Regions from separate parts of the Homo sapiens genome. Here regions 1, 2, 3, 4, 5 and 7 are each linked to region 6. Evidence: promoter capture Hi-C in 16 types of primary human blood cells and fetal thymus (Javierre and others, 2016). All regions are on one chromosome and are shown on one strand. Each heading gives the region's core, a stretch centred on a gene start or on the middle of the fragment in contact. The rest is flanking DNA. Distances are from core to core; before and after follow the strand shown.

Region 1 (2,700 bases), core at 12-2,511, 1.2 Mb after region 6:
CTTACTCATTTCTGTTATGGATTAAATAAACATAAAAATAGGGAATATATACTGTTCCAACAAACTTTTCCTCTTTAGATGGAGACTTTCAAGGACTTAAAGAGGCATAATTTGTTTTAAAGTCCCTTAAGGATGGACAAGAAAACACTTAGTGGTTCTTTTGTTCAGCCATCACAAGAAGAAGTGGAGCATTAGATAATCCAGAACAGCAGCCTTGCTATCCAATCTGTTTATCTAACAATAATAGTTAAGGGGAGCTCTGCAGGTCAGCAAAGCTAGTCCAGGATTACAAACTGCCATACATGAGCTACATGTCAATTAGTTGGATTATGTATAAGATAGCATTTTATGAAATAATGCTCTTAATACAAAAACCCCTATATGTTACTAAAAGATTAAACTTAAAAGGAGGGTATAAAAAACATTCACAGAAAATATTTATTATGCTACTCTTTGTACTATGTATGGGAACAGTATGTTTGTTAAGTCCAAGAGAAAAGATAATTCACTGACATGAAACACCCAAATGTCTTCATTTTAAAAGTAGTTTAGAGATAGCATCAGGTAGGCCAAACAACTGTACTGGGCCCCTGTAGAGATTAGGGTTTGGTCTATTAAAAAAAATCTTTGCTTGCTGGAACTGCAAGCTTGGCTTCCCTGCAAGCTCAATAGGTTCTGGAGCTCATTTACCATGTCGCTCGCTGGATCCCAGAAAGTTGCCCATGGTCAGCTAAGTGACGGAAGACTATACGACTAAGCCTCCAGCGCCGCTTCACACCACGCGGACGGGACGTCATAACACACCGATTTCTGATTCTAACAGGACAGCTATCCCGGGGGAGGGCAGCAATTTCTTCATCAGCCACATCCTAAGGGAAATCACATTATTACACAGATCACATTACATTGTTGCACATGTATTTTGCTCCTTCTCACTTGCAGGTAATTTTCTTTTCTTTTTTTTTTTTTTTTGAGACAGAGTCTCGCTCTGTCACCCAGGCTGTGGGTGTTAGATTGTGCAATGTCACAATCTCAGCTCACTGCAACCTCCGCCTCCTGGGTTCAAGTGATTCTCCTGCCTCAGCCTCCCGAGTAGCTGAGATTACAGGTGTGCACTACCACACTCAGCTAATTTTTTGTATTATTAGTAGAAACGGGGTTTCACCACGTTGCCCAGGCTGGTCTCAAACTCCTGAGCTCTGGCAATCCGCCCATCTCTGCCTCCCAAAGTGCTAGGATTACAGGTGTGAGCCACAGCGCCTGGCCACTGGCAGGTAATGTTCATTGCATGAGTACCATAATTCATTTATCCATCCTACATTTGATGGTCATCTTACGATTTGGGCGAATATAAATAGTGCAGCTACATACTCTTGTTTAACTCATTTGTAAAGTATGTGAATGTATTTCTGTTGCCGCCTCATGTTTTTTGAATCACGAAAGTGAAACCTCTGGAATGATGATCAAATAGGAGGGAATGTGGCTTGAGATAAGACTAGAGAAGGAGGAAGGAGAGTATCACATGGAGCCCTGATGTCTATGGTAAAGATTCTGACAGCTAGAGAAGTAAAGGGGAGAGATCAGATGAGGTTTATATTTAAAAAAAATCATTTGCAAGGTAGAGGATGAATCAGGTAAGGGCAAAGTGGTTGAGGGGAGAAAAGTAGGGATTACAGCAGTAGCTAGGGCTCAGGTTTTGTCAGTAGAGATTTCTTCTTATGTATGTGTTCAAGAGTGTGAGTGTTCATAATATTCACTTTAATCTGATAAGTGTGCTAACAAGTAGATGGACCCTGTGCTAGACTGCGGTGCAAGCAAAATAACACATTAAAATAACACAAATTAAATGAAAGTATATAAAAGCCAAAAATTAACAAAAGCTTATGCATGTGTTACCATTATGAACTAACAGAATTACATAAAACAACATGATTGCCAGGCACAGTGGCTCACGCCTATAATCCCAGCACTTTGGGACGCCGAGGCAGGCGGATCATCTGAGGTCAAGAGTTCGCGACCAGCCTGACCAACATAGGGAAACCCCATCTCTACTAAAAATACAAAATTAGCTGGGTGTGGTGGCACATGCCTGTAATCCCATCTGGCCGGGAGGCTAAGGCAGCAGAATCGCTTGAACCCAGGAGGCAGATGTGGTGAGCCCAGATTGTGCCACTGCACTCCAGCCTGGGCAACAAGAGCAAAACCCCATCTCAAAAAAAAAAAAACAAAAAAAAACCATGATTGAGCCATTGAGTAGTAAACAATAAATGCTATACAAGGAACTGGAGAGGAGAAATGACTGGGCAAGAAGATTGAAGCCAAGTTTCATGGAGGTGGACCTTAAAGAATGGCTAGAAATTATGGATTGATTGATTGATACATACCCCTTCCTTCTTGTTCCCCGAAAGATTTAAGGCAGTTTACAAATGAGGAAACTGGGGCAAAGAGAAATGAGAGTAGGAAAGATAAAAGCCTCAGGACACAAAAGTGCATGCTGTGAAATTAGAACTGGGACATAAATTTGACTTGTAAGCTACTTGGCAGGCAGCAGAGAACCATGATCAGTTTACATGATTCACAGACTCTGCACAGTTATTGCTGCTAGTCATACCAGAGACATGTCTTCTGGGTATCTTCATAAAGGTACTCAAACAACACACCCCCAGCTGTATTAATGTATAGTTGACAAATAAAAATTGC
Region 2 (3,024 bases), core at 393-2,892, 1.2 Mb after region 6:
GAGTTTCTTTATGAAATGAGGATGATGATAGTGCTTACTTATACAGTTGCTCTAGGATTAAGTGAAATACTACAAGTAAAGCATTTGGTGTGGGGCTTGGCATCTAGTAAGAATAATGATAGCATAAAATTTCTAGAACAGATTTCAAAGAGATGCTACAATACCTTCTATTTCTAGGGTATTTCTAGAGATACTTCAGGAAAAAGGAGCACCCGTCTTGGATAGTTGGGTTCGGGCTAATGATTTTGATTGCAGCACAAGAAAAATAATTAACCTTCAGAAATGGGCCTGCATCTATGACAATAAGCAGCATCTAAAAAAGTCATAAATTGTTTCAGAAGGTGATTTAGCCTATGGAATAGTTTGATGTTGGTTATCTCTTTTGGATACTTTAGGGTAAGATGATGGCATGCAAACACTGCAGTGACATTTTCAGCAAGGAGGGTGCTTTGAAACTAGCAGCCACAGGCAGAGAGGACCAGGGAATTGAAACAGATGATGAGAAGGACTCACTTAAGAAGCAGCTGAGAGAGATGGAACTGGAACTGGCACAAACCAAACTGCAGTTGGTGGAGGCCAAGTGTAAAATTCAGGTTGGTGATTTGATAAAAGAACAAGAAGAAAGAATAAACAATTAATGGTCCAGGATACTCTAGTACTTCAGAATACACCTATCTAGGTCAGAATTGTATGATGAATACATTTTCTGTCTGCTAATGTGTCCTGCATAATCACATTTTATATCATGTATTCTTAACGCTGATATAAACAAATATATAATTTTAAATGAAATTTTAATAATTAAAATTATATCTTATGGGAATTTAATTAAGCATATGCTTGTTTTTTTTACCCTGAGATTTTTTGCTTACATCCTTTCTCACAGAATGTGGTCACTTCAGTGGCTGATCCTGAAAATGAAAAACCAAACCCCCTCTGCTGTGTCTACCCTGAGAGTCACACATTGGCTGACACCCGTTCTTTCCTTTAGAGCTTCTTTTTATCTTTAGCTCATTTTGTCAAACCTCTTTCCCCATTATCTTTCTCCATATTGGCGCATAATATAATTAGAAATAGTCCTGGCTTCTGATGGACTCTTCTTCATTTCATTTTCCCAGTGATCCCTACCAGCACCATGGCTGCCATGTCACCAGCCTCCACCACACCAGCCAGCTTCCACCATGTGTCTGCTCTGACCTTGGACATTCTTAGGGCAAAGCCTATTTCTTTGGAACTGGAATTCATTCATGCTTCTACTATCAGTAAAAATTCATCCATATGTTTACATTTATTTGTGGTTTTTAAACCTGTTATATCGGATTGCAACCTAAACCTAAATTTGGACCTAACTTGCAGGGAAAAAAAGAATAAAATGAGCTTTTCTTTCACTGTTTAAAGAAAGCACAGATTCTAGATTTTTGATAAGTCTTTTAGCTCTTAACTTTATCCTTGTACTAAGAAGCCAATTCAATCTCTCCTGGGTTTTGTGGGAGGAAAATTGGCAGCACATACCTTGAGACTCCAAAAAGCTGCACACTTTTATTTATTTATTGGCAAAGAGAAAACATTTATTTAACTCAGATGATTTTCTTGCTTTAATTAGGAACTTGAACATCAGAGAGGAGCCCTTATGAATGAAATCCAAGCTGCGAAAAACTCTTGGTTTAGCAAAACCCTGAACTCTATCAAAACGGCCACGGGCACCCAGCCATTGCAGCCAGCACCGGTCACCCAGCCACCCAAGGAGAGCACATAGTTCCAGCCTTACCCAAGCACAAGAGCACAATGTTCAAACCAATGGAAATCTGGGAGGATTCTTCCTGGTGTCCCTTTGAAGGAAAGTCAAGGAGGCCAGAAAACAAGCCAGAATTTTTCAGTAGCTCTCACTCTTTCTTGTATGACACTTTTCAAAGGGATGCTATTTAAACTGACCTGTTCTATGTTGAATACCTATTTTCCAGCTTCTGGAAGGCCATGTTCAGATCCATCATAGTATTACACATTATTTTGTTTGCCTGATGTTTAGTTGGAAATAAGTAATTCAGAACTAAATGCTTTTTTATTTAGAATTATTCATAATTATTTTTATCTTACATAAAAATGGAGACATCTGTTATTCCAAGGTTGAAGTGATAAGAAGATCTTTGTCACAGGAAAAAAAAAATTGAAACCTAAACATCTTAAGTTTTCAGGATTTATTCAGATAAAGCACACTGTGGGGCCAGGCATGACCACTCTCAGGTTTCCTCCTGAGCCTGATTCCCAGGGAAGTGTTAATCCTGTCCAAAGGAAAGAACCAATCAGCGATCATTGGTTTACTTTCATTTTCTGTTCGGTACATCTGGAAATGAAGTGCCAGGAATAGACGGGCTGTTCAGATTATACGCTAGGTAAAAGGAACTGAAATTTTAATAAGTGTAGGTCAGGATCATTTGGGCTGTGGTATTCTAACAGATCCTTTTAAGAATGCCACATAGGACTTGTGAGTTCCTAAGTACACCAAAGTATGGACACAGATGTGACTTCTGGCAATTATAAAGTTAAAGGTGGATATTGCACCTTACAGACTTAGGGAGCCTTTACCAGAGACGCCTAAAAAGCCCCAGGTTCAGCCATTGTGCTGAATAGAGTGGAATATAGAACCAGGGACAGAGTATTTCATTTAACGTTGATATATACTTGCTAAGGAAACACTAACAATACTGTAACTTTGTTAAAGGACATAGTATTGAAATGGGAAATAGAGGTCAGGCTCACATCATCTTAGTTTAATGCTGGGCAACTTTTTCTGATTTCTGTAGTTCCCTGAAAATGTGTCCTTCGTACCCATAAAGAGATACAAATGCATTTGTAACATTTTTGATTGAATATAAAACCTTTACAGAAATACTTATCTCATGGAAAGGTAAAGCTATTGTTTAAAAATTAGTGGAAATATTTTTTCAATTATATTTAACATGCCTATAAAAATAGTCCTTGCAGGAAATTATTTGATAAGAGCAAAACTATTTTTATTTTATAAAC
Region 3 (2,700 bases), core at 123-2,622, 1.1 Mb before region 6:
AAGGCATATAATCATCAGACTATCCAAGGTCAATGTGACAGAATAAATATTAAAGGGAGCTAGAGAGAAATGTCAAATCACTGATAAAATAAATTCCATCAGACTAACAGCAGACTTCTCAGCAGATGCCTTACAAGCTAGAAGAGAAAAGTGGGCCTATTTTTCACTTCTTTAAAGAAAAGAAAATGCTAGCCAAGAATTTTATATCCTGCCAAACTAAGCTTCATAAATGAAGGAGAAATAGACTTTTCCAGACAAGCAAATGATAAGGGAATTAATCACCACTAGACTGACCCTACAAGAAATGATCAAATTAGTCATAAATATGAAAACAAAAGGACAATACTTGCCATCATAAAAGCACATGTAAAAGAAAGCCCACAGACCCTATAAAGCAATTGTACAATTGAGACCCAAGGCAACTAGCTAACAATGCTATGACAGAAACAAAACTACACATTGAATATTAACTTTAAAAGTAAATGGCCAAAATGCTCCACATAAAATATATATACTATAGATCTAGGAAAACTGGATTAAAAGAACCAAGACCCAATCATCTTTTGCCTACAAGAGAACGACTTAATGGTTAAAGCACCTACGGACTCAAAGTAAAGGGATGGAAAACATGTACCATGAAAATGTAAAACAAAAGCAAATAGGAGTAGCCATCCTTATTGTATCAGATAAAACAAACTTTAAACCAACACAATTTTTTAAAAAGACTAAAAAGGGTATTATGTAATTATAAAGGGTTCAATACAACAAGCAGATTTAACCATCCTAAATATATGTGTACCCAACACCAGGGCATGCAGATTCATAAAACAAATACTGCCAGACCTAAGAGAAGAAATGGACAGCAATACAGTAGTAGTCAGGGACTTCAGCACTCCCCTGACATAACTAGAGAAGTCATGGAGGTAGAAAGTCAACAAACTCTGGACTTAAACTGAACTCTAGACCAAATGGACCTAATAGACATTTACAGAACATCCTACCCAACAACCACAGAATATACAGTTTTCTCACCTGCACATGAAACATTCTCCAAAACTGACCATATGCTTGGCCACAAAACAAGTCTCTACAACTTCGAAAAAATTTAAATCATATCAAATGTCTTCTTGGACCACAAGGAAATAAAATTAGAAATCAATGCCAACAGGAACCCTGAAACTTACACAAGTACATAGGAACTAAACAACTTGCTCCTGAATGACTTTTGGGTAAACAAAATTAAGGCCAAAATCAAATTTTCTTTGAAACAAATAATATAGAGGCACAAGATACCAAAACCTCTGGGAAACAGCAAAAGTAGTACTAAAGGGAAAATGTATAGCATTATATACCTACATAAAAAAGATAGAAAAATCTAAAATTAGCAGCCTAACTTTGCACTTCAAGGGACTAGAAAAGCAAGAGCAATCCAAACCCAAAGCTAGCAGAAGAAAAGAAATAACAAAGATCAAATCAGAACTAAATGAGATTCAGACAAAAAAAAATTACAAAGAATCAACAAAATGAAAAATTGATTCTTTGAAAGGATAAATAAAACAGGTAGATCACTAGCTAGTTTAAGCAAGAAAAAAGAATCATGTAAGCACAATCACAAATGGTAAAGGTGACAACATTACAACTGATACCACAGAAATACAAAAGATCTCCAGAACTGGCCCGGTGCAGTGGCTCATGCCTGTAATCCCAACACTTTGGGAGGGGGAGGCGGGCGGAACACCTGAGGTCAGGAGTTCAAGATCAGCCTGGCCAACATGTTGAAACCCCGTCTTTACTAAAAATAATAATAATTTAAAAATTGGCTGGGCATGGTGACGGGTGCCTGTAGTCCCAGCTACTTTGGAGGCTGAGGCAGGAGAATCGCTTGAACCCAGGAGAGGGAGGTCATAGTGAGCCAAGACTGTGCCATTGCACTCTAGCCTGGGCATTGAGAGTGAAACTTTGTCAGAAAACAAAACAAAACAACTCCAGAATTATCAACATCCCTATGTGTACACCCTAGAAAACCTGGAAGAAATGGATAAATTCCTGGAAACATGCAACCTTCCACGTTTGAACCAGGAAGAAATAGAAATCCTAAACAGACCAATAACAAGTAATGAAATTGAATCAGTAATAAAGAAAAATCTTTCTCCCAGCTAACACGGTGAAACTCAGTCTCTACTAAAAATACAAAAAAAAAAAAAAAAAAAAAAAAAAAAAAATTAGCCAGGCATGGTGGCGGGCGCCTGTAGTCCCAGCTACTCGGGAGGCTGAGGCAGGAGAATGGCGTGGACTCGGGAGGCGGAACTTGCAGTGAGCCGAGATCGCACCGCTGCACTCCAGCCTGGGCAACAGAGTGAGACGCCGTCTCAAAAAAAAAAAAAAAAAAAAAAAATCTTTCAACAAACAACAAAAGCCCAGGACCAGACAGATTTAAAAACAAATTTTACCAGATGTGCGAAGAAGAGCTGATACCAATCTTACCGTAGTTTTTTCACACCATTAAGGGGGAGCTATTCCTCCCAAGCTTGTTCTATGAAACCAGTATCACCCTGATACCAAAATCAGGCAATGACATTGAAAAAAAAAAAAAAAACTATGAGCCAATATTTCTGATGAACATATTCACAACAGCAAAGTCATGGAATTAACCTAAGTGTTGGTGAACATTTGACTGTATAAAGAAAATGGGTTATATAT
Region 4 (2,700 bases), core at 76-2,575, 1.2 Mb before region 6:
AGTGAGGTGGTGTGTGAGACACAGGCCAGTGGTGGAGGCTGGGTGACCCAGAACTCCTGTCTCTCATTCTCAGGGGCAGCTGCTACATACTTCCCACTGATTGGGTTTGCAGAGATGGCCTCGAGGGTGTCTGATATTCTGATATTTCAAAACAGAATAGAAATATGTATTTTAATGTGTATTTAATATATATATTTTAAAATATTTTTAATGTTGATATTAAAAGTGGTCAGTTGGGCTCAGTGCAGTGGCTCATGCCTGTAATTCCAGCACTTTGGGAAACTGAGGCAGGAGGATGTCTTGAAGCTAGGAGTTTGAGACAAGCCTGGGCAACATAGCAAGTCCCCATCTGTACAAAAAAAAAAAAGAATAAATTAGTCAGGTGTAGTGACTTATGCCTATAATCCCAGCTACTCAGGAGGCCAAGGCAAGAGGATTGCTTGAGCCCAGGAGTTTGAGGCTGCAGTTAACTACGATAGCACCACTGCACTCCAGCCTGGGTGACAGAGTGAGACTCTGTCTCTATTTAAATAAATAAGTAAATAAATAAACTGGGCAAACAATGAAAATGAAAACATTGCGAAATACAAAGCAGCTCTGTGGGTTCCACTGGTTTGCAGCCTCTGATCTAATTTCTAAAGTGGGTGTAGCAGGTTTTTAACCTGTAAATTATGGTGATCGGCAGGTCAGGGTAAATGGTAGTTGTGTGTGGGGAAGAGATGATGGCAACAGATGTTTTCCTCCTGCAAAAACTAAAATGTGGGAGTGACTTCTCTGGCCATGACTCCATGGTCTCTCCCCTCAGAGCCATTTTCAGTAAAATTTTTATAGTTTAAAAAATACGGTTCTGAACAATTTTTGTTAGAGTTATTTTGGGATTTTTAAATAGTTTTTTGGTTGTGTATATGGTAGAATTCTTAAAATTATACAATTATAATGTATAAAAAAGCATGCAATTATAATTCATAAAATTATAGCCCCACTGACCATTCTCCTGTAGCTGGGAGCAGTTCACACTAACAGGGCTATACCCCCATGCTGACCTGCTCTGCAGGATCCCAGGAAGGTGAGCATAGCCTACTAACCTGTTTGGGTAGCACAGCGACAGCAACTGAGGCCTTGAAGGCTGTTATCAGAAAATTGTGGGCGGAAACTTCCAGGGGTTTGCTCTGAGCTTCTTGAGGCTTCTCAGCTTCAGCTGCAAAGTGAGTGGGTGTTTCTTTGAGAAGCAGAATCAGAGAGAGAGAGATAGAGAAAGAGAAAGACAGAGGTGTTTCCCTTAGCTATGGAAACTCTATAAGAGAGATCCAGCTTGCCTCCTCTTGAGCAGTCAGCAACAGGGTCCCGTCCTTGACACCTCAGCCTCTACAGGACTGAGAAGAAGTAAAACCGTTTGCTGGGGCTGGCCTGACTCACCAGCTGCCATGCAGCAGCCCTTCAATTACCCATATCCCCAGATCTACTGGGTGGACAGCAGTGCCAGCTCTCCCTGGGCCCCTCCAGGCACAGTTCTTCCCTGTCCAACCTCTGTGCCCAGAAGGCCTGGTCAAAGGAGGCCACCACCACCACCGCCACCGCCACCACTACCACCTCCGCCGCCGCCGCCACCACTGCCTCCACTACCGCTGCCACCCCTGAAGAAGAGAGGGAACCACAGCACAGGCCTGTGTCTCCTTGTGATGTTTTTCATGGTTCTGGTTGCCTTGGTAGGATTGGGCCTGGGGATGTTTCAGCTCTTCCACCTACAGAAGGAGCTGGCAGAACTCCGAGAGGTAAGCCTGCCGGCAGACTGCTGTGCCCTGGAGGCACCAGGCATAAGGGGATGGAGGGCCCACTGCCTGGCTTGCAAAGTGCTTTTCAATCCTTTTTTTTTTTTTCTTAGAAATGGGTTGTTCTAGTTATTCTATTCTATAGACAGAGAAATGGAGGCTCATAGGGGTGAAGGGAATATTTTTTACTTTGTAAAGAATCAGAGCCCAACAGTTTGTCTTTCCTCAGTTGTCAACTCAGTCTGTTGAACCACTTACTGCCTCATACCTATTGATTTAAGGAGTAAAAAACAAACAAACAAAACTTTTAAGTTTTGCTTGGAAGTAAATTTGTTCAGATGACCAAACTAAATCTTGAAAATTGGTACGATTCCAAATCACAAAACTGAGGGACAGTGAGGCAAAATTGCTTGGCCAAAGCCCAAGTTAGCAGAACTTCTGAGGTATTTGGATTCTCTTTCCAGGGCTTGGTTTATTTGACGATTCTGCCTCTTTTGCTTAAAGAATTTTATTTTTATTATACATCTTTTCTCTTTCTGTTTTACTAGTCTACCAGCCAGATGCACACAGCATCATCTTTGGAGAAGCAAATAGGTGAGTCTTTTTTCGCATGTACATTGAGTTCCCAAAGATGATCCTCAGCACAGAACTATGTTAATGGAATGCCTTAAATTCTGTCCCACACTTTGGTTTCTGTACACTATAAGAGGAATTCTGGCTAATTCAGAATCTCTGGTCTATGATTCCTTGAGCTGCTTTAAAAATGTGAAGTGAATTGAATTGCTCACAATCAATATAGCTGAGCACTGCACACAATTCAAAATCACTTCCACTTGACTTTGGAAAGAGACACACATATACAACCCTGGACCTTTGCCCCCTGAGAAGTGGCTCCAGGCCTGTCCCCTTCCACAGACATCCTGGTCCTGGC
Region 5 (2,938 bases), core at 337-2,836, 1.1 Mb after region 6:
TATTTGTCTTCTAGTTTTTTGTCACTGCTTTGTCTGAGTTTTTGCCACCTTTGCAGAAAACACTGTTAGACGTGTAAATCTGAAAAACAGGAAGGTCTCATGACATTAGTCTTTCCTGTCAGCTCTCTTTTGAATCTCCTATAACTGTTAACAGTAGCAAAGAAAGCAATTTTGATACTTTGGAATGGAAGACATGAAATAGCTATTCTGAAAATAGTTGTGAACATACCAAGTTCATAGTGTTTAGTTAAGGAAAGGCCTTGCTTCATAAGAATTAGTGACTTGGTTTTTTTTTTTTCTTTCTTTTTGTTTGTTTGTTTGTTTCGTTTTTTTGTTTGTTTTTTTATCATGTAACTTTGTTTCAGATTTTTCAAGGTTGGGAGCAGAAATCCTCAGTAATTTATTTTACCCAGAATGTTTTAATCTGAAATTTTTTAAAAAACAAAAAAACTAGATATCTTATGACTGTTGCTCTCACACAAAAATAGGTGTTCAGAAAAGTAAATATATTCTTACTCAAAGAATAAAAATGTCAGCTGTTAGCAAAGTCATGAACCCATGTGTCATGATTCTTGATTTAGAGCTCTTAAATATACTCAATATGAACCCTGTCTTAGAAAAACAATTTGAAGAAATGTCTGGTGGTTTTCCCCTGTTTCATTCCTACTGTGTCTTGTGGTTTCTCTTGAGGTCAAGGGTGAGACTACCGTGCATGTTTCAAATAAAGAATTGTTTGTGTCTGTGTTCTAGATCTATGTAAAAACCTCACAGGATTGGGGGGGATATGCTCAGAAAGTTTGTTCTTTGTGGCACATTTTTTATAATGAAGTTCCATCTTGAGAGTTTAAGGGACCAGTTTCACCGGGTAGAGAACCGCATCTGCATTGCTAGCTAAACTCACTGTTGTTTCCCAGACAGCAATCCTGCCTTCCTGTGCCACTTGCGCCTTCTCCTTTTTACACCTTTGAAAGTTCACTTTGTTGCTTGTTTTTCCTCACCAGTTCTGTTCGTTTCTGTATGTCCAGACACTAATGCCCACCTCTGGCTATTGTTCTTCTGCAGAGGGAGAACCGAAGATTACAGGAGGCCAGCATGAGGTTGGAACAAGAGAATGATGACCTTGCCCATGAACTAGTAACAAGCAAAATTGCTCTACGGAATGACTTGGATCAGGTAATCCTTAGAAATGAGACTGTGATGACTTCCTCAGGGCAAAGACCGATTTGCCCTCATCACCGCCCCCACAAACTTGCTTTGTTCTTGACTTTGTTCTTGAGGAATGGACAAGTGGCAGGGACAGTCTGTTAATTGGAGACCATGGAAAACATAAGCCTTTGAGAAAGGTTTGGGTCATTTCTAAATAGCATGTGTGACATACTTTCTTTATACCTCTAAACTCTGTTATGTCTTTGTTGATACCTTTCCTGAACCAATGGCTGTCAGCATAATTATCTGAGAACATCAGTCACCAAGAATATGCCTGTACTAATGCCACTCTAACAGTAGATGCCTTACTTTTTGTTCCAGTAAGAATTATTCTCCATAATAAATGTGAACTTTTACATGAAGTACCTACATTAAGAGTTGGATTGTTAGATTGATAGGCATCTGAGTGGCTGAGAGCCAGACTGCCTGATTGTGAATGCTGGCACCACCACTGTGAACCATATGACCCTGGACAGTTCTTAAGCTGTCTATAGGTATAAAAAGGTGTCTATCTCATAGAGATGATATAACAATTAAATAAGTAAAACACTTCGATAGTATGTGTTCATTAAATGTTAGATGTAGCTGAGAGAGCTGGCACTAAAGGGAATTCAAAAACAAAAACAAAAACTGTGTTGTTTGGGACACAGGATATGGAAGGTAGAAAAAGCTGCCCAGAGAATGGTTTTTTAAAAAGTTGTGGCCCTGTTAACCACAAACCTCATTCAGCCCACCCATTTGGAAGCTGTGAGAAGTGGTATGAGAAATATGTGACTAGGAGAGTCAGAACCAAAGAAGGTAGCCGGATCTCCATTCAATCAGGGTCAATTCAGCCTTACCTCAGTGGTCATATTTTTGTATTCATGAGACTGTTGAGATAAGTCAGTGCTATAATGAAAGTCTTGGTTCTATGTTAACTTTCCAAATGGTCTTGATTCACACTTGATTCTGCCATTTTGAATCTTTTATCCATTAATAATTTTCTTATGATGGCTGACTAAATGAAACAATTTTTAAACAGTTGGATTCAGTGGGGATGCAGTGAAATGAGCTAAGGAGAGTTTCAAAGTTGTTTGGCAAATGTAGTTGGTAATATGTGTTAAGACGTTAAAAGGTTTAAGCAATAATAAAATTAAATTTTACTATGTACCCACTATGTGCCAAGCACTAAATAAAGCAATTTATAAACATCATCTCATTTAATCTCCCTAATGACTCCAGGAAGCAGTTATTATTTTAATCCTCCATTTCATGAATGAGGAAACTATATAGATGAGGAAACTAGAGATCCTCTGACTTGTAAAGCTATCCTAAAAAAAAAAGATCTGTTTAAAAAAAATGTATATACAAGGTTGTTTACTGCAGTGTTACTTATAAGAATGAAAAATAGAAATATTATTTTATCTATGTTCACTAGTAGGGGAGAATGACAGTTTGACTGTAAAATGTCTTTCTGGAATAATTTTTGTTAATGGGAAAATAATGATAAAGTATTTTTTTAAAAAATACTTTTTTTTTTCTGTAAACAGTAAACATTTATAATGTTTGCATCTAAATTTCAAGGGCTACTGGCTGGCATTGGGTCATCCTATAGGGAAGGGGACCATAGTATACCTAGATAGGGAAGAAGCCCACAAGGAAATACATCAAAATGTTACTGCTAGGTATCTCTGGGTGATAAGATTAAATATAATTTTTATATTCATCTTTATAGTTTTTTCCCATTTAGAAT
Region 6 (2,726 bases), core at 204-2,703:
TCTATATGAAGTCAAATCAGAATTCCTGTCTGGCTTTCAAGGCACTACTGTATTTGATCTTATTATCTGATCCTATCCAGGTTCATTTTCTACTACTTCAGTTCTTCCCCAAGATCCATCGACATTAGCCTTTCCAAAATCCAACATTCTGCATACACTTCCTCTAAGGTTTTGTATACAACATTGGGGGGTGGGGGGATGGGAGTGAAGAAAGTTCCAGTAGACAATTCTTTAAGAGGTTAAATGACAGCCCTATACCCAAACATGCACCCCCTACTCTAGACAGATGATCACTCTACTGTTCTCCCTGCCTTTTTATTCACCTTATCGCCAATTAAAAACACTTCTCTACTCCCGTTTGTCTCAGTAAATCTTATCCATTTTCCATGTGCCATCTCCTCAGAAGTTTTCCTGAGCTTGGCAGGGCTAGTTCTCTTGACAATTCCACTTGCAGTTGTGGTTCACAGCACACAAGTAAAGCTTTGTTGTTTCTCTTGTGATTAGTCCGTGAAGGGGCTCTGACTTGATCACTTTTCTACATTGCCACCAATACCTAAATCCAACCGCCCCAATGCCAATACTTAGCCAGTGTTAAGCACGTAGTGTTTAAACACACCTCAACACGCAAGTATTGTAAGATAATGACCACACAACAGGGCAAATACAAAGTTAAAGCAGGTCCGGGACCAATACAAAGCATCTTTACCAATAAAATGCCGTGATGACGCTGTCACCCATTCCGGATTCACGAATCATTCTTCAAAAGTCCGGCTCCAAAACTATGTGGAGACTGAAATCCCCTGAAGAAAAAAAAAAAAAACCGCCAAAATGACAGCTAAGACAGAGGCCAGACTAACCCCTGGCCCTCCCAAATTCCCTCTCGCTCCACAAGTGGGTTCACAAGAGACACAAACGCACCCAGGAAGACCTCCGCTCCCTCAGACGCGGGGCGGGCCCTGCGACTTCACTCTGGGAGGGACATTTCCGCTCACCCAGCTCTGCGACCCTCGCTCCTGCGGAGTCAGCTTCTGCTCGCGGAGGGGGAAGGGCAAAAGGACAGTGCGTCCCAACCCGTCCCTCTCCAGCTGAGCCTGTCAGAGACCAGCCCAGCTCTGAAATCAAGCCGTTGAGAAAAGGGAATTCGGCCCTCCGCCGCCTCTTCAGTTTAAAATCGTTTCCCGACTCGCTCTGCGGCCCCACGCAGGAAGCCTCCTTGGCGCCTCGCCGATTCCGTATCAGTGAAGCAACTAAAATTGCCATTTTAACTGAGGGCAAGGCCGAGCCACTTAACCACTATCGTCAACCTTTCCAATCGTGCTCGGTTGCTCCTCAGTTTTCCTACCGGTGCGAAGCTTTCTCTCAAATTTCCGCCCGTAGTAGGCATGGCGGCGGCACCTCACCACTGATTCGTTGAATTCCTTCCCGGTAATCTTGGGCACTAGCGGGCGGAGTTGAAGGGCGCTTGGACCCCAGCGGCGATCTGTGTTTGGGTTCGCGCTCTGGGAGAATTTTGGCTTTGCTCGCCTTCCTCTTTCAGAAGACTCGAAATCGGCCAGCAGGTCTGCGAGATTTGAAACGCGACTGTTACTCCTTGTTTTCCGGTTCTGGCCGCGGGAGCCTCTCGAGAAGCGTGGAAAGAGGAGAAGGGCGTATACCTTGTGACCGCCTCTGGTTGTCTTGGGCTCGCGCCTGGCGCCGCTACGTGGAGTCGCTCTCTCGTCGTCACTTTTGGCTGCCGACTTGTTGAGTAGAAGTGCAGACTGATGCTTTAAGACTCAGGGAGAGGTCTTTCCCTTATCTCCACCCCAGCAAGCACCCCAGAGACCTTGGAGATTTGTCTTGTTTCTAGACACGTGTACTCCAATGTTGTGCGGAGGAGGCCTTAAATATTCGAGAAGAGAGTGGGAACTCCTGGAATTTTAAGGGATTTCTGTGTATTTCCAAAACTGACTTTTAACTACCGGCAGCGTGGGATTTCGTGATTGTTTTTCGCCATCGTGTGGCTCCAACATGTACTTCCCTTCTTGGTTAAGTCAGCTGTACAGGGGTTTATCCAGACCCATCAGAAGGACCACCCAACCGATCTGGGGTTCTCTCTACAGAAGTCTGTTGCAGAGTTCACAGAGGAGAATTCCAGGTGAAAATAGCGAAGAGATCTATCCTATGAACAGTACTTCAGCCTGTTATCTACGGCCGGAGAGCTTTTATTCCATTTTTCATTTTTTCCCCCATTATTATTATTATTATTATTATTATTATTATTATTTGAGACGGAGTCTCGCTCTGCTGCCCAGGCTAGAGTGAAGTGGCGCGATCTCCGCTCACTGCAAGCTCCGCCTCCCGGGTTCACGCCATTCTCCTGCCTCAGCCTCCCGAGTAGCTGGGACTACAGGCGCCCGCGACCACGCCCGGCTAATTTTTCTGTATTTTTGGTAGAGCCGGGGTTTCACTGTGTTAGCCAGGATGGTCTCGATCTCCTGACCTCGTGATCCACCCGCCTCCGCCTCCCATAGTGCTGGGATTACAGGCGTGAGCCACCGCGCCCGGCTTTTCCCCTGTTCTTAACTGGATAGCCTTATGTGTAGAAGCGAAATTCACTCTCATTATATTCATTATACGGCAGTTTTTTTTCCCTGAGTTTTTAGAAAGACCACAAAAAGGTAACCACGTAATATATAGAATACTCTGCTTTTGGTTGATGCCTTAAAAAAATCCTTCTTCGGCCG
Region 7 (3,001 bases), core at 477-2,976, 1.1 Mb before region 6:
ACAACAAAGTATATAAGATTACAAGGAAATTAATGATATTGAAATACAGTTATTGAACTATTTGAAAAATTGTGACATATTAATATATATTAACACATTAAATAACAAGATCTATCAGCTTCTGCATAAACTACCATAGTTTAAAATAGTGATAAATGTAAGTGCTATCTCAACAAATTTGTATAACTTTAATGTGATAAGAAAAATATCTGTGGTTTCCATTATCAGTCATATATACTGCTAATATTACTTTGGTTTATTTCGTACATTCATGTAAGAAGAGAATGTAAAATATTAGTTAGAAGTAAGCAAAAATAAAGGTGTTTTTTTTTCCATCTGAGTTCATGAACCCCTTGTATTTTATCCATGGGATCCTTGGGATATATGGACATCAGTTGATAAGTAATAACTCTGAGAAATGAAAGTGGGTAAGATAACCCATCTTCACTTAATTTTGTCAGGAGCTTGATAAGAGTCAACCCAATATTGATTGAGTGACTTAAGTAAAGATATAATTGTGAATTATGACAGAGATCCTTCAGTTTTAGATAACAAGAACAAAAGTTAACATTATATTGTAAAAACACTTTCAGTCTTCCATTTGCTTTTCTTTGTTATCTTGATTTTTAATTATTTATCGAATAACTTTTTAACAACAATGAAAAATACATCTTATTTCACTTTTCTCTCATGCCTTGGCAAAGAAGATAGAAATATAATTCTTTATGTTTGAATACATGAAAGAATGAGTGAATGAATTTGTTATTGGTATTCTTATTCTCTAGCTTCAGTCTTTCAATAAGTCTTTCTCTGAGATGCTAACAAGTAATATATAAAATTGATTACATAGAATTTCCTTGTCTTTTATCTCTCCAATCTTTTGCTTTGTGGAGATTTCAACACTTTTAGCAATAAAAAAATCATGTATTTGTATATTAAGGTCATTATATCATCAGCACCTGATTCACTGAAATTTCTTAAATTTAAGGACATCAGTGAATGACTGTCTGGTACTCAGAAAGTCCAGACAAGTGAGGCCTTTTCTTCTGCTTCCATTTTCCTTTTTTATGATTCATAGCTGACAGTGCAAAGACAGAGGTGAAAGAAACAGTGTAAAAGCAGGAAGACAGAAAGGGTGGTGAGAAGACAGAAAAGTAATAGTGAGACAAGGGGATGGAGGAGAAGAAAAATAAAAGAAATCTTTATTTGTGCCAAAAATGTACTATCATTTCATCATTCACATGGATCATTTGTAGCTGCTTTGTGTATACCTATGGGGTGATAAAGTTTCTATAAAAGGGTATCTCAAAGTGTGGACTGAAGAACGCCTGTGGTGTTTGTTTCTAATGTAGTTTCCTAGACCTGCCTCCCAATACACTGAATCAAAATCCCTGTGGGACCCAGTATTGTGCATTTTCACAAGCTTTCCAAGTGGTTCCAGTGCTCATAGAGAACCACTGATCTTGCTAAGAGGTAAAAACTTGGCTGACTCTTGCTAAGGTAAAGTGTATCTAATTTCCACCTTCTGAATTAGGCAGGAAAGAAAATCTGCTTTTTCACCCACTGATATCAACACTGCACTATAATTCAGGGATTTTGAAATTTGGCCAAATAATAGGTTAAGTGTTTTATTCATTTTAGCCAGTGATTAACAAGAAAAAATGGTAGCTTGCACACTGACTTAATTTGCATGGGCCTCTTGTTTTCCTCCTCAGCTTGTAAGAAAAGAAGGGACAGAATCAAGCTCTCCTGCTGATCCTGAGTATGTGAATTTGTTTAGGGGAGATTTTTACCCATGGGAATCTGCCAGTCATTCTTGGATGATAGCTAGCACAGGCAGAAATCTATATATTGAAGTACCTTTATATTATTCTCTAGAGAGAAAGAGCTATAAAACCAACCCCCAAATAATTTACCTCAGCTTTTGAAAGCATAGTCTTAATTATATTGCCTTTTCTTTTAGCATTGGGATTTGTCTTCCTAAGCCTCCTTTAAAATTCATTTTTTTCCTTTTTATGAAGGTACTTCATGAAGCTTAAGTATCCAAAATAGCCGTACTCACTGTAGAAGTCATCTAGAGCACTTTTCTAAGCTCTCTTTAGTCCACAATATTTCTATTAATTCCCCAGAGATACCAAACAACATTAAGAGGATCTCTGACAATCTGGCCATCTCTCTAGCCTCATTCCACATCTCAAGATCAGAAACAAAGATTCCTTAAATGTAAATGTAAAAGTAAAAAAAAATTAGATGAGAATGACACTATTTGAAGGTGCAAAATTCTGAGAGCGAAGTAAACTATCAACCTCCCTCTGATAATAAATAGAATACAATTTAAAAAGACAATACTAGTGATTTTGAAGTCTGTGATTTCTTTTTGAAGACAATTCTTCACATATGCATTTTTACTGATATTTAAGTAATTTCAAAACTGGCTATACAGCATTTAACTGAGGCACTAACCACTTTCTTGGTTTTCTTGGGATCACTGTCATTTAAAGGAAAGAGGCCTAAATCCTGGAAAAATAATCTATTTGAGAATTATGACAATTCCTTTCTACCAATCACCTGAATGACACACTATTATGCTTTTCAGGACAGACTCTTTACCTTAAGAATTAGTCAATCTACGTTACTCTGTTAACATTTTGTTATTTTATAGGTTAGATAATATAGTATCACTTCAAAGTTTAGAGTATTTTGAAGCATGAATTACAGAATTAACAGTTGTAAACAGGTTGCAAGAGATGGAGAAGTCAACCAACATCATCTTTCATCCTTCTGTGTACACAGCCTAGTGGTACTGTGGGTATCTGTTCATATTTAATAACTTCTGAGAAGTTGCTAAGTGGACTCCTAGTTGCTTCTTTTTTCATAATGTCCAAGGTTTCTTTGAGAAATTACTTTATTTATCAACTATGTAATAGGAACAAGTTTTAACCATGCAGGACTGATGAGAGTCTGTCTTAATTCATATGGACTGGCTTCTGTGTCTTTCTTA

What was found. The method cuts DNA at HindIII sites, captures the fragments that hold promoters and counts their contacts. A CHiCAGO score of 5 or more calls a contact.
Region 1: a fragment that was not itself captured here is called in contact with the fragment with the promoter of DARS2 in region 6 in 1 of 17 cell types (neutrophils); the score reaches 9.0 in neutrophils.
Region 2: a fragment that was not itself captured here is called in contact with the fragment with the promoter of DARS2 in region 6 in 1 of 17 cell types (neutrophils); the score reaches 11.2 in neutrophils.
Region 3: a contact is called between a fragment that was not itself captured here and the fragment with the promoter of DARS2 in region 6, in 8 of 17 cell types (total B cells, naive B cells, naive CD4 T cells and 5 more). The highest score is 13.7, in total B cells.
Region 4: the fragment with the promoter of FASLG here is called in contact with the fragment with the promoter of DARS2 in region 6 in 6 of 17 cell types (naive CD4 T cells, total CD8 T cells, activated CD4 T cells and 3 more); the score reaches 12.6 in naive CD4 T cells.
Region 5: a contact is called between a fragment that was not itself captured here and the fragment with the promoter of DARS2 in region 6, in 1 of 17 cell types (neutrophils). The highest score is 5.6, in neutrophils.
Region 7: a fragment that was not itself captured here is called in contact with the fragment with the promoter of DARS2 in region 6 in 2 of 17 cell types (total B cells and naive B cells); the score reaches 5.7 in total B cells.

Annotation. Positions count from the first base shown.
Region 1 is chr1:175,013,983-175,016,682 of GRCh38, forward strand. It overlaps MRPS14 (mitochondrial ribosomal protein S14), which reads right to left. Exons shown (of 3, transcript NM_022100.3): 3 at 1-869. The coding sequence ends at 687. Among named protein-coding and RNA genes, the nearest start is that of MRPS14, 8.1 kb to the right of the region's middle. The HindIII fragment of the contact is 1,233 bases long and covers 646-1,878 here.
Region 2 is chr1:174,988,246-174,991,269 of GRCh38, forward strand. It overlaps RABGAP1L (RAB GTPase activating protein 1 like), which reads left to right. Exons shown (of 26, transcript NM_001366446.1): 25 at 396-593; 26 at 1,604-3,024. The coding sequence ends at 1,756. Among named protein-coding and RNA genes, the nearest start is that of CACYBP, 10 kb to the right of the region's middle. The HindIII fragment of the contact is 8,943 bases long and covers 1-3,024 here.
Region 3 is chr1:172,729,590-172,732,289 of GRCh38, forward strand. No RefSeq gene overlaps it. Among named protein-coding and RNA genes, the nearest start is that of FASLG, 72 kb to the left of the region's middle. The HindIII fragment of the contact is 2,306 bases long and covers 220-2,525 here.
Region 4 is chr1:172,657,778-172,660,477 of GRCh38, forward strand. FASLG (Fas ligand) reads left to right here and starts at 1,326. Exons shown (of 4, transcript NM_000639.3): 1 at 1,326-1,772; 2 at 2,318-2,363. The coding sequence starts at 1,425. The HindIII fragment of the contact is 3,765 bases long and covers 1-2,700 here.
Region 5 is chr1:174,968,215-174,971,152 of GRCh38, forward strand. RABGAP1L (RAB GTPase activating protein 1 like) reads left to right here. Exons shown (of 26, transcript NM_001366446.1): 21 at 1,063-1,173. Among named protein-coding and RNA genes, the nearest start is that of RABGAP1L-AS1, 15 kb to the left of the region's middle. The HindIII fragment of the contact is 6,694 bases long and covers 1-2,938 here.
Region 6 is chr1:173,823,220-173,825,945 of GRCh38, forward strand. DARS2 (aspartyl-tRNA synthetase 2, mitochondrial) reads left to right here and starts at 1,454. Exons shown (of 17, transcript NM_018122.5): 1 at 1,454-2,137. The coding sequence starts at 2,011. CENPL (centromere protein L) reads right to left here and starts at 1,664. Exons shown (of 6, transcript NM_001387287.1): 1 at 993-1,664; 2 at 707-800. RefSeq lists enhancers at 941-1,180, 1,158-1,676, 1,411-1,970, 1,677-2,194. The HindIII fragment of the contact is 2,471 bases long and covers 1,351-2,726 here.
Region 7 is chr1:172,712,662-172,715,662 of GRCh38, forward strand. No RefSeq gene overlaps it. Among named protein-coding and RNA genes, the nearest start is that of FASLG, 55 kb to the left of the region's middle. The HindIII fragment of the contact is 611 bases long and covers 1,422-2,032 here.